Linked DNA regions of Homo sapiens: region 1 is linked to region 2. The links are contacts of gene promoters, found by promoter capture Hi-C in blood cells and fetal thymus (Javierre and others, 2016). All regions are on one chromosome and are shown on one strand. Each heading gives the region's core, a stretch centred on a gene start or on the middle of the fragment in contact. The rest is flanking DNA. Distances are from core to core; before and after follow the strand shown. Region 1 overlaps ANKRD11 (ankyrin repeat domain containing 11). Region 2 holds the start of SPG7 (SPG7 matrix AAA peptidase subunit, paraplegin).

Region 1 (5,658 bases), core at 1,458-3,957, 110 kb before region 2:
CTAGGTTAGGAAAAAAGAAAACTGGGAATACATTTAACCGACTCCATCAACTACATAAGAAAGCACCTTTGAGAGTGAACTTGTGTCTAATCACCACCTTGGGACCTGCCTGCATCTGAAATGAGTGAGTGATCTACAGTCACCAAGGCCCTTTCTGTTTCCCCAAAAATTCCTTTTCTAAACTCCAGCCTATTTCTTCACATTCTACTTCTTATTCAAGGCCTATGCAAATGCTAACCCTCAGTGGAGCCTCCGGCAAGCCCAGTCCCCAGGAAACACGGTCTCCCTCCCTCTTCTTCACCTGCATACCTTCTCTCACAGGAGCCTCTGGAAGTCTCCCTCAGGACCTGGCACCTTCTTGCTACATCATAAATACCTTGAGAGCACGACGCCAGCCTCATTCACCTGTTCCCACAGGTGACATGGCTCCCACCCTGGGACCAAGAGAGTCCACTGTACACATTAAACTTTAGTTTCCTCTTTTTTTTACTTTTTTTATTTTTATTTTTTTTTTTTTTGAGACGGAGGCTTGCTCTGTAGTGCGAGACCACTCAGGCAGGTGGAGTACAGTGGCGCAATATTGGCTCACTGCAACCTCTGCCTCCTGAGTTCAAGCAATTCTCCCACCTCAGTCCCCCATGTAGCTGGGATTACAGGCGTGTGCCACCATATCCAGCTGCTTTTTTTTTTTTTTTTTTGTATTTTTAATAAATAGAGACGGGGTTTCACCATGTTGCCCAGGCTGGTCTCGAACTCCCGACCTCAGAGTGATTTGCCCGCCTCAGCCTCCCAAAGTGGTGGGATTACAGGAGGAAGCCACTGCGCCCGGCCTAGTTTCCTCTTAGGTGGAGTAATCACGTCCACCTCAGAGGATTTGTAAGGGTTAGAAGGGGAAGCAGCCGGGCCGATGGAAACATGCAGGAACTATCCCAGCTGGGCCTATTGCCCTTCATTCTGGAATCTGGCAGAGCTCTGCATGGCATCTCGCATGAAACAGGCTCTAAGTATTTAATGAATAGGAGGAGACATGTCAGACAGTGGGAATAATCATGCTGATCTGCATGAGGAAAATGTGTCAAAAAACAAAAGCCAAAAAGTCACGAAGAAAGTGCTTGTAATAGAGACTAGTTTACTTGTGAGGGCTACGAATAAGTGAAGCTCAAACCACTAGGTGCCAAACATGAAAGTGGGTTCCCAGACCCCAGTGTTTGCTGACTGCAACACAGCGGTGCCTGCAGCTCACAGGGTGCTCCTCCCCGCCTCCCTAGCCCTCCTGGAGACTCCACCCATCACAGTCCCAGGTTCCAGGCAGGCTTCCCAGGCCACTCAGCTGCTGCAAGCACAATGTCCTCCTGAGGTCAACGGGCAGGTGGCAGGAGCCTCTGACCTGCTTCCCTCCACGACATGGGCACGTTCTGGGACTGCAGTTCCACAGTGGTCTCCCATGTCCCTGGAAAGCAGCCGTCCGCCTCTCCTCCACACCTGCCACACTGCTCTCACTCATCAGGAAACTTCTCATCAGAAAAACAGCTCGTGGGCCAGGCACAGTGGCTCCCGCCCGTAATCCCAGCACTTTGGGAGGCCAAGGCGGGCAGATCACCTGAGGTCGGGAGTTCAAGACCAGACTGGCCAACATGGTGAAACCCTGTCTCTATTAAAATACAAAAATTAGCTGTGCGTGGTGGCAGGCACCTGTAATCCCAGCTACTCGGGAGGCTGAGGCAGGAGAATCGCTTGAACCCAGGAGGCGGAGGTTGCAGTGAGCCAGTATCGCACCACTGCACTCCAGCCTGGGCGACAAAAGCAAAACTCTGTCTCCAAAAAAAAAAAAACAAACAACCTTTTGTGGAAAAACGAGTGTATTTTCCACTCCTCGTCTCAATAAAACCTGCGAAGACTGCTTTCATATACAGGAGTCGTGTTTTATGACAAAGGCTCCATCAAGGATGCTGTAAAATTACACACAGCCATCTCCATAATATATGGCCCCGAGAGTTACACACATGAGGTTATTGAGTTATTTTTCAAACGTCCAGACTCCTCATTTCCAATTAAGGCAGGTTGGCTGTAGCACTGTTGGAAAGCCTAAAGCTTTGTTTGCAGCCAATTCAGAGGCGACAGTTTTTCCAAGGCTACTTAGAGCTGATGAGAGAACCCCCTGTTAAAAAGATCTCCAAACCAGCAAATACATCACGGTATGATTTTAAGTCACTGCAATCCAGATCATCTTAAAAGTTCTGCAGGATTTGGAAAAACAAAGACAAATTATTAAACCAAGTGACCAGGCTGAAGCACAGGACAAGATGAAAGAGGGCCAAGAACAGGCAACACCACCACTCAAACGATCCAAGAGACTCCTGGTCTAAAAAGTTAGAGGCTTGGTCAATTTTAAGGCAGCGTCTTAACAGAAAGAATTATGCAAGCCAAGTAAACTGGCTGAGCCCCAGGGAAGGGCTGCGTACTGCCAGAGGAATGGGCTGGACTCTTTCCAGCTCCGTAATCCTGGGAGCAGCGTCGGTGTGGAAGGAACCCTGACGGCAAGCTGTTACATAAGAGCCCAGTCCTGCACTGCGGGGACATGGTCCGCTTGCTACTGGCATGCAAAGATCAAAGAGAGGAGACAGCGCTGGGATGCCAGCCCACGGCTGGGACACGTGCTGCTTCTGTGAGCATGCGCCCAGGAACAGACGCACAGACCCACCCGAACGGGGAACCGAATCTTACTTGTCCATGAGAATCCCAGGAGGGGACCAATGGGCCATCACATTGGAACCCTCTGAAACTGCACACACATTTGCAAGCATAGGTATCAGGGGAGGTAAGTGATACAGACTCTTCTAAGGGTGTGAAATGTTTGAAAAGTTGTCAATAAGCACACAGACTGACCTGATTCATTCAACAACATTTTCTCACCCAGCACACAGACTGAATAGCTTGGTACACTTGCTTCCCAGGTGTAAAACTACCTGCTTAATAACAATGCCTTCTCAGCTGGGTGACACCGCACTGATGAGCCAGTTCACTGGAGGACTGCTGGGGTGGTGCGGCAAGACTGTTTCAACGCACTACGTCCCGAGCACGCAGCATTCATCTTGTGCATATCCTTCATGACAAAACAAGTATGCACAAAGCACTGCTGCCGCACACCAGACACAGCGGCCTCTGGACAGGAAGCACCAATCTTCAGTCAAAGAATGACCGACCGACATGCAAACTCTGGTTGTTCGGACATGAGTACTGGCAGATCATTTCTAAAAAATGAAGGAAAGACAGCTGCAAGTTCAGCCAGAACACCTCAACAACTTGTTGTCAATGTGAAAATTCAAGCTTTCAAAGATAAGAATTTTGGAAAACTCCAAGAGCAGACAGCTTCTGAAGAACTAAAAGTCTCCCTGGAAGAGACAGGTGCTGCTTTCTGATGTAGTAAAATCAAGTGGATCCACGTCGGGAGATGCACACGAGTCCCGGGCACCCAATCGGCCCTTGGGTGCACACTGTGTGCTGACCTGGGTCACCTCCAGATGTGGACACACAGGCACACTCCCACACACACGCGACGGAGCCGCACTCGCCGCAAGAGAGACCAAAGGGAAGCCCTGAGACTCCCCTGCTGCTGGAAACGCTCACAGCACAAACACCTGCTGGGTTTTGGTGTCGTATCAATGAAAATCTCCATAATTATATCAAAAAGCTATTTATTAAAAATATGCTTCCATTTTCCCACTAGATTTTTTTTTTGTATACTTCAACTAGAACAACATATTTACCACAGACTGATGCAGGAACAGCGAGGAGAACCCTGCTGTCTTCTATGAAGCCACACATTAATGGGGTTTGTACAATTTTAAGGAAATGCTCCTCTAATTGCTATTTGTTGTTGTTGCTGTTGTTTTTGGGACGGAGTTTTACTCTGTCGCCCAGGCTGGAGTGCAATGGCGCCATCTTGGCTCACTGCAACCTCCGCCTCCCAGGTTCACGCCGTTCTCCTGCCTCAGCCTCCCGAGTAGCTGGGACTACAGGTGTCCACCACCACACCCGGCTAATTTTTATATTTTTAGTAAAGACGGGGTTTCACCATGTTGGTCAGGCTGGTCTCAAACTCCTGACCTCAGGTGATCCAGCTGCCTCGGTTTCCCAGAGCACTGGTGGGATTATAGGCATGAGCCAGGGGACTTGACCAGATCACTAATTTTTTATACTGGAAAATACAGGATTTTTTTTTTTTTAAAGAATGTGCTGCTTATATGCAATGGGCTTATTATTCCTGTTGTTAATTGGAATTGGTATACAGACATTTTCCAATCCTTCAGGTTTCAACTGGCAAATGCCAGCAGACATACCCACAGAGCCAGAGCTCCTCAGGCTCCTCCACGTCCAACGGCGTCTCACAGTCCTGAGGATGAGGACCTGGGTGAGGGGAGCACGGGAGACACAGCCATCAAGGCATCCACCTCCAGGACAGACACCAGCCAAGAACCCCCTCAGGGCAAGGCCTCTCACAAGTCCAACTCCACGGATTCCACCGTAAGTGCTGTCAACTGGATGCGCATTTACAAAATCTGAGTTTTCTCAAAGAAGCTGAAGCTTTCCGTGTCCTCAGTGATTCTGGACTCCCAGCGCCGTACCACTCCCTGCCAGCCACACAGGGGGACCCACAGGAAGCAGGCCTTCCCCGTGGCGGGCCTTGCTGCTATCCGCGCTCCTTTCTGTGCAGTCGTCCCTGACGGGGAAGGGTTGAGCCCAGCCAAGTGGATCCCTGGCTGCAGGACAAAGGTGTGCATGGCAAGGGGCCCACCTGCCTCAGGCTGAGGCATAAACTTTCCCTTTTCACTCAGGAAGGGTAAGACACAGTTCCCAGTTTTACAGTGTGCTTTTGTGGATGCTGACCCGGTACTGCTCTTGGAATGTCAAGATGAAGATGATGCAGAAGCCTCTCCTCTGAGCATCTTCTGATTGACAGGCAAGGGACTGGAGTGGAGCCCTTGGCAGCAGGCGGTGGCCAGGGACAAGCGGCCCGTGCCACGTCTCCCAGCTAGCTCACCACCAGCACACAAACCTTCGTCCTGGGCATGGGACTCTCCATCCCTGGTCAAAGCAGGTGCCTCGGGTGGCAACACAGGACCCTCAGACACTGATCTCCTGTTGTTGAATCGGTGCAATATTCACCCACCAAAAACAACCACAAAGCGCCTGTCACCAGTGACAATGTAGCACTGTCTATGTGAATAAAATTAAATTGTGTTTGGAGAATCTGGTGACGCTGTGAAACAGCTGAAGATTACCTGTAACCTCAGCGCTCTGGGAGGCTGACAAGAGGGACACTGTGAAACAGCTGAAGACTACCTGTGACCTCAGCACTCTGGGAGGCTGACATGAGGGACACTGTGAAACAGCTGAAGATTACCTGTGACCTCAGCACTCTGGGAGGCTGACATGAGGGACACTGTGAAACAGGTGAAGATTACCTGTGACCTCAGCACTCTGGGAGGCTGACATGAGGGACACTGTGAAACAGCTGAAGACTACCTGTGACCTCAGCACTCTAGGAGGCTGACATGAGGGACGCTGTGAAACAGATGAAGATTACCTGTGATCTCAGCACTCTGGGAGGCTGACAAGAGGGACACTGTGAAACAGCTGAAGATTACCTGTAACCTC
Region 2 (5,005 bases), core at 1,178-3,677:
CAGCCAGCCTTCAAAGCACGGTTGTTAGAGATGAGTTTGAATAAATGCATAAATACTCTGTTCCCATATCCTCATTTCCCATGACGTCCCAGTAATAACTCTGGATGCCAAGGCTTCCTGGCTCGTCAGTTGCCCTCACACACATTTATTGCATTTTATCTTCATAACCACCCTGTGGGAAACCCAAGGCTGATATTAGCCTTGCTTTGCAGATAATTATCATCCCCATTTTACCGCTGAGAAGATTGAGGCTTGAGGAAGCTAATAACTTGCTTAAGGTCATAGGCCAGAGGAGACAGAACCCAGTGTTCTTTCCCCAGAGGAGGCCTCTTGCCAACACCCCACACTGCTTCTGATGAATTGCCAGGAAACAATTTTAACTTATCTCAAACAATATTAATAGGACTACACTTAAACTCCTCCCAAACACATCCAAATGTGTGCCCTCACCCTCTCTCCAGCCTTGTCCCGTGACCAACCCAACCAAACTTCCGAAAGGGTTTTTTGTGTTCTAGGAAGTGACCGAGCCCCACAACCCTTTATGCCTGTGCGTTCAGAGGATTTGTGACCTTTTTTTTTTTTTTTGAGATGGAGTCTCGCTCTGTCGCCCAGGCTGGAGTGCAGTGGCGGGATCTCGGCTCACTGCAAGCTCCGCCTCCCGGGTTCACGCCATTCTCCTGCCTCAGCCTCCCGAGTAGCTGGGACTACAGGCGCCCGCCACAGCGCCCGGCTAATTTTTCGTATTTTTAGTAGAGACGGGGTTTCGCCGTGTTAGCCAGGATGGTCTCGATCTCCTGACCTCGTGGTCCGCCCGCCTTGGCCTCCCAAAGTGCTGGGATGAAGGGCAGGGAGAGGGAGGGGGAGGGCACCGCGCCCGGCCCACCTGGTGTCTTTCAATCAGGGAAAGAAAAAATAGTGGAGGAGGAAACGGCAAGGTTGGATTCACTGCGAAGGCTGACTGTACAATAAGAAGCAAAAGGAAAAGCGGTTCAGTTGTGAAAATCAGTGTCAGCCCTGGGTGTAGGGGAAGGTCCTCTCCACAAACCAACAGAACACCTCCCCAGCCCCGAGCACCTCTGCCGAGGCACCCGGCCCACTGGAGGGCTGAGGGCGGATAACCACGATAACTGAAAACACTTTCCTGAGCGTCTCGGGGCTGAGGAAGAGGGAGGATTACACGCAGCCCACTGGCTTTGCAACCTCGTCTGTAGTGGTGGAGTGAGTGCAGGTCCAGAAACAAACCAGACCGGCCTTGAAATTCTGCCCTAACTTCAGAGCTGTAATCCTAGGCAGGTTACTTTTAATACTTCTGAATCTTTCTTTACATGTAAAATAGAGGTATTGTATTCGCTGCACAGGGTTGTGAATATTACATGGGTGTTCGACACGGAGCTAGGCACTCGGTGATGTTGGCTGTCGTCACTGGCATTCACTGTTACGAATTTGCGGAGTACAGAAAAGCATAAAAATAAATAGGTCACCCTCATCCTACCTCTGTGACAGACCATCTAGTCTTTGCTTTTCCTACTCAACAAGCTTTCCAGCTCTTGGCGTCAGCTCTAGACCTAAGGCGGACGGAGGAAGGGGTCGGGGTGGCGGAGGACCCCGCGCGCCTGGGAGCCCACGAGGGACCCTGCCCGGGCCCGGAGGGCGGACCCTGAAGAGAACAGAGCCTCTTCCTAAGCTTCCAGACGGCGCCTCCCCGCTTCCTACGATGGGCTCGCGCAGCGGCCGGGGCAGGACCGAGGCTCGAAGCGCCTCCGAGGTGAGCCAGTCCGAAGGCACAGGACGGAGCGCTCCGAAGTCAGAGGTGTGCGGGACGAGCTCTGCAGACGCCTGCCAGGCCGCGCCGCACTGCGCGCTCCCTCCCTCACGACCCTCCTCCTCCGGGGCTGCCCTCCCTGCGGCGGCTGCAACTTCAGTCCTCGTCCTCGGGCGGCTCAAGACGCAGGAAAACCGCCCCCTTCCTGCGCTCCTCACACCCGAAGGGGCCCTCCCGACCCGAGGCCTCCGGCGCCGCCCTCCTGAGCGCGGGCCTCTACTCGCAGGCGGGATTCCGGCCCGCACCATCCGCCCTCGCCTGTGACCGAACCCTGCGGGTGACGCAGGCTGCCCGGGCGTGAGGCCCCTCGGCGCGGGCGGAGCACGACCACGCAGCCACGACCCGGCCGGTTATTCACCCGCCAGGCCCTGGGAATACAAGGCCGGCTTCAAAAAAACCAGGGCACCCGCGACCTCCTCGCAGACGCGCGCCCCCATACCCGGGCCTCAGGCAGCCACGAGGTAGACGGGCTCAGGCTCGGGGGTGCGGCAAGCGGCACCCGGGCGCGGCGGGGCGCAGCTGTGGGGACCGCGCAGGCGCCACGTCAGACCCCGCCCACCCCGCCGCGCAGGCGCCGTGTAGCGCCCCGCGGATCACGCAGGCGCGGCTTTCAGGCCAACATGGCCGTGCTGCTGCTGCTGCTCCGTGCCCTCCGCCGGGGTCCAGGCCCGGGTCCTCGGCCGCTGTGGGGCCCAGGCCCGGCCTGGAGTCCAGGGTTCCCCGCCAGGCCCGGGAGGGGGCGGCCGTACATGGCCAGCAGGCCTCCGGGGGACCTCGCCGAGGCTGGAGGCCGAGCTCTGCAGGTAAATCCCCGCGGAGTCCGGGCCCCACCTCCCGCCCGGCTCTGCTCTGTAAGGCCCAGCCCGGCGGGGCGGGTCGGAGGCCGCCTGGCCCCTGCGGCGGGGGAGCCTGCGCCTGTGGGCCCGCGGATCCCCCAGCTGTGGACCTCGGCGCGGAGCGACTGTTGGGGCCCTGGATCGTGGGCGCTGGGCGGGCCGGGAAGAGGCAGGGCTGGGATCCGCGCAGTCCTCGGCGTGGACTTTCCCAACCCGTCTGTTGTGTGTGGATGTTCTCCGCCCGTCTTCCTCGCCTTTTAAAGTGGAATCCAGTAACGGTTTCCGGCGTAGCACTAATTTACAGTCCACGCCTGTGGATCGATTCCGTCACCAGGAATTCCAGCGCCTTCCAGTTAGGGTGGTTATTGCCGAGTAGGGGGCCCAGAACGTTTCTGTGTCCGCAAAATACCCTGTAGCTGCATTTTGCTGTTGTCATGTAGCTCGGCACGTTATTGATACAGTCATTGAGCACCCCCTGTAGTGCGGCCTTGTTTCAGGTTCTGCTAAGGATAGGATAGCATCTCCTCCCGAAAACCAGACCTTGTGTCCTTCAGCTTTTGGGCTGATGTTTTTTTCTCCTAGCCCTCGCCTAGGAGCTTAGCCCACACCTTTTAGGTTGTTGTTTTTTCGGTTATTTTTGAGACAGAGATCTCGCTCTGTCGCCCAGGCTGGAGTGCAATGGTCTTGGCTCACTGCAACCTCCGCCTCCCGGGTTCAAGCGATTCTCCTGCCTCAGCCTCCTGAGTAGCTGGGATTACGGGTGCGCGCCACCACACCCAGCTAATTTTTGTATTTTTAGTAGAGACGGGGTTTCACCATGTTGGCCAGGATGGTCTCCATCTCTTGACCTTGTGATCCGCCTGCCTCGGCCTCCCAAAGTGCTGGGATTACAGGGCGTGAGCCACCGCGCCCGGCCATAAAACATATTTAAATGGGAAAATGTTTATCTTGAAAGGAGAACTCTGAAAGTATATACTTGTTAACTGGTTTGGTACCTGGAAATGTTCTACAAGGAGCCACTCTCTGGTGACAGCAGGAGCCCCGTGTCTGGGCAGCCACTGTGGCCTTTGGAGAGCTGGGCTGCTCCCTTTCTCCTGCAGAAGCTTCAGGCCATGGGATAGCAGCCAATGTACTTCTGTGTTTTGTTTTCTTCTTTTTTTTTTTTTTTTTTTTTTGTGACAATCTCGCTGTGTCGCCCAGGCTGGAGTGCAGTGGCCTGATCATGGCTCCCTGAAGCCTCTGCCTCCTGGGCCCAAGCAATCCTCCCACCTCAGCCTCCCAAAGTGCTGGGATTACAGACATGAGCCACCGTGCCTGGCCACTATCGTGATTTTTTGTTTGTTTATTTGTTTGTTTTTTGAGATGGAGTTTCCCTTTGTTGCCCAGCCTGGAGTGCAGTGGTGCTATCTCGGCTTACTGCAACCTCTGCCTCCCGGGTTCAAGCGATTCTCCTGCCTCAGCTTCCTGAGTAGCTGAGATTACAGGTGTGCACCACCACGCCCGGCTAATTTTTGTATTTTTAGTAGAGATGAGGTTTCACCATGTTGGCCAGGCTGGTCTCAAACTCCTGACTTCATGTGATCCACCCGCCTCAGCCTCCCAAAGTGTTGGGATTACAGCCGTGAGCCACCACGCCTGGCCAATTACTGTGTTTTAACCTGTTTACTTGCTTTTGACATTTTGATGTTACCTAAAGCTTTGACCTATTGCTCAGACTATTACTTTATATTTCAGGGCAATGTAGATATTACAAATAATTATATATTTGAACTTTTAAAAACGATTTTTAGTCTGCATTGCTTTGGTACTCTCTAATGTTGGTGTGACCTCCAGTATTGTTTTTTTTTTTTTTTCAGAGCTTACAATTGAGACTGCTAACCCCTACCTTTGAAGGGATCAACGGATTGTTGTTGAAACAACATTTAGTTCAGAATCCAGTCAGACTCTGGCAACTTTTAGGTATGTATCTGTTTAAAGAAGCAGCTGAGCATGACTGCACACTTACCGCCTCAGCTACTTGGGAGGCTGATCTTTTTTTATTTTAGAGACGGGATCTCGCCCTGTTGCACGGGCTGGAGTGCAGTACAATGGTGTGATCAGAGCTCACTACAGCCTAGAACTCCTGGGCTCAAGGGATCCTCCCCACTTTGCTTCCGGAGTAGCTAGGACTACAGGCGTGTACCGTCACACTCGGCTAATTGTTTTTTGTAGAGACAAGGTCTCACTTTGTTGTCCAGGCCCAAAGGGGCCTCTTTACTCCCTTATCCCCCAGTTGCAGAGCCTTGACCTCTTAGGCTGGAGTGATCCTCCCACCTCAGCCTTCCATAGAGCCAGGACTCCAGGCACA

What was found. Contacts are between HindIII fragments. The CHiCAGO score rates a contact against its expected background, and 5 or more counts as called.
Region 1: a fragment that was not itself captured here is called in contact with the fragment with the promoter of SPG7 in region 2 in 2 of 17 cell types (endothelial precursors and M1 macrophages); the score reaches 5.5 in endothelial precursors.

The regions. Positions count from the first base shown.
Region 1 is chr16:89,392,811-89,398,468 of GRCh38, forward strand. All of the region lies in intron 2 of ANKRD11 (ankyrin repeat domain containing 11), which reads right to left. All of the region lies in intron 1 of LOC128462377, which reads right to left. Among named protein-coding and RNA genes, the nearest start is that of ANKRD11, 95 kb to the right of the region's middle. RefSeq lists an enhancer at 2,124-3,062. The HindIII fragment of the contact is 1,236 bases long and covers 2,090-3,325 here.
Region 2 is chr16:89,505,976-89,510,980 of GRCh38, forward strand. SPG7 (SPG7 matrix AAA peptidase subunit, paraplegin) reads left to right here and starts at 2,428. Exons shown (of 17, transcript NM_003119.4): 1 at 2,428-2,625; 2 at 4,515-4,617. The coding sequence starts at 2,443. LOC101927863 (a long non-coding RNA gene) reads right to left here and starts at 2,345. Exons shown (of 5, transcript NR_188547.1): 1 at 2,262-2,345; 2 at 1-172. RefSeq lists silencers at 1,742-1,811, 1,932-2,141, 2,212-2,771, 2,802-2,921. The HindIII fragment of the contact is 2,077 bases long and covers 1,683-3,759 here.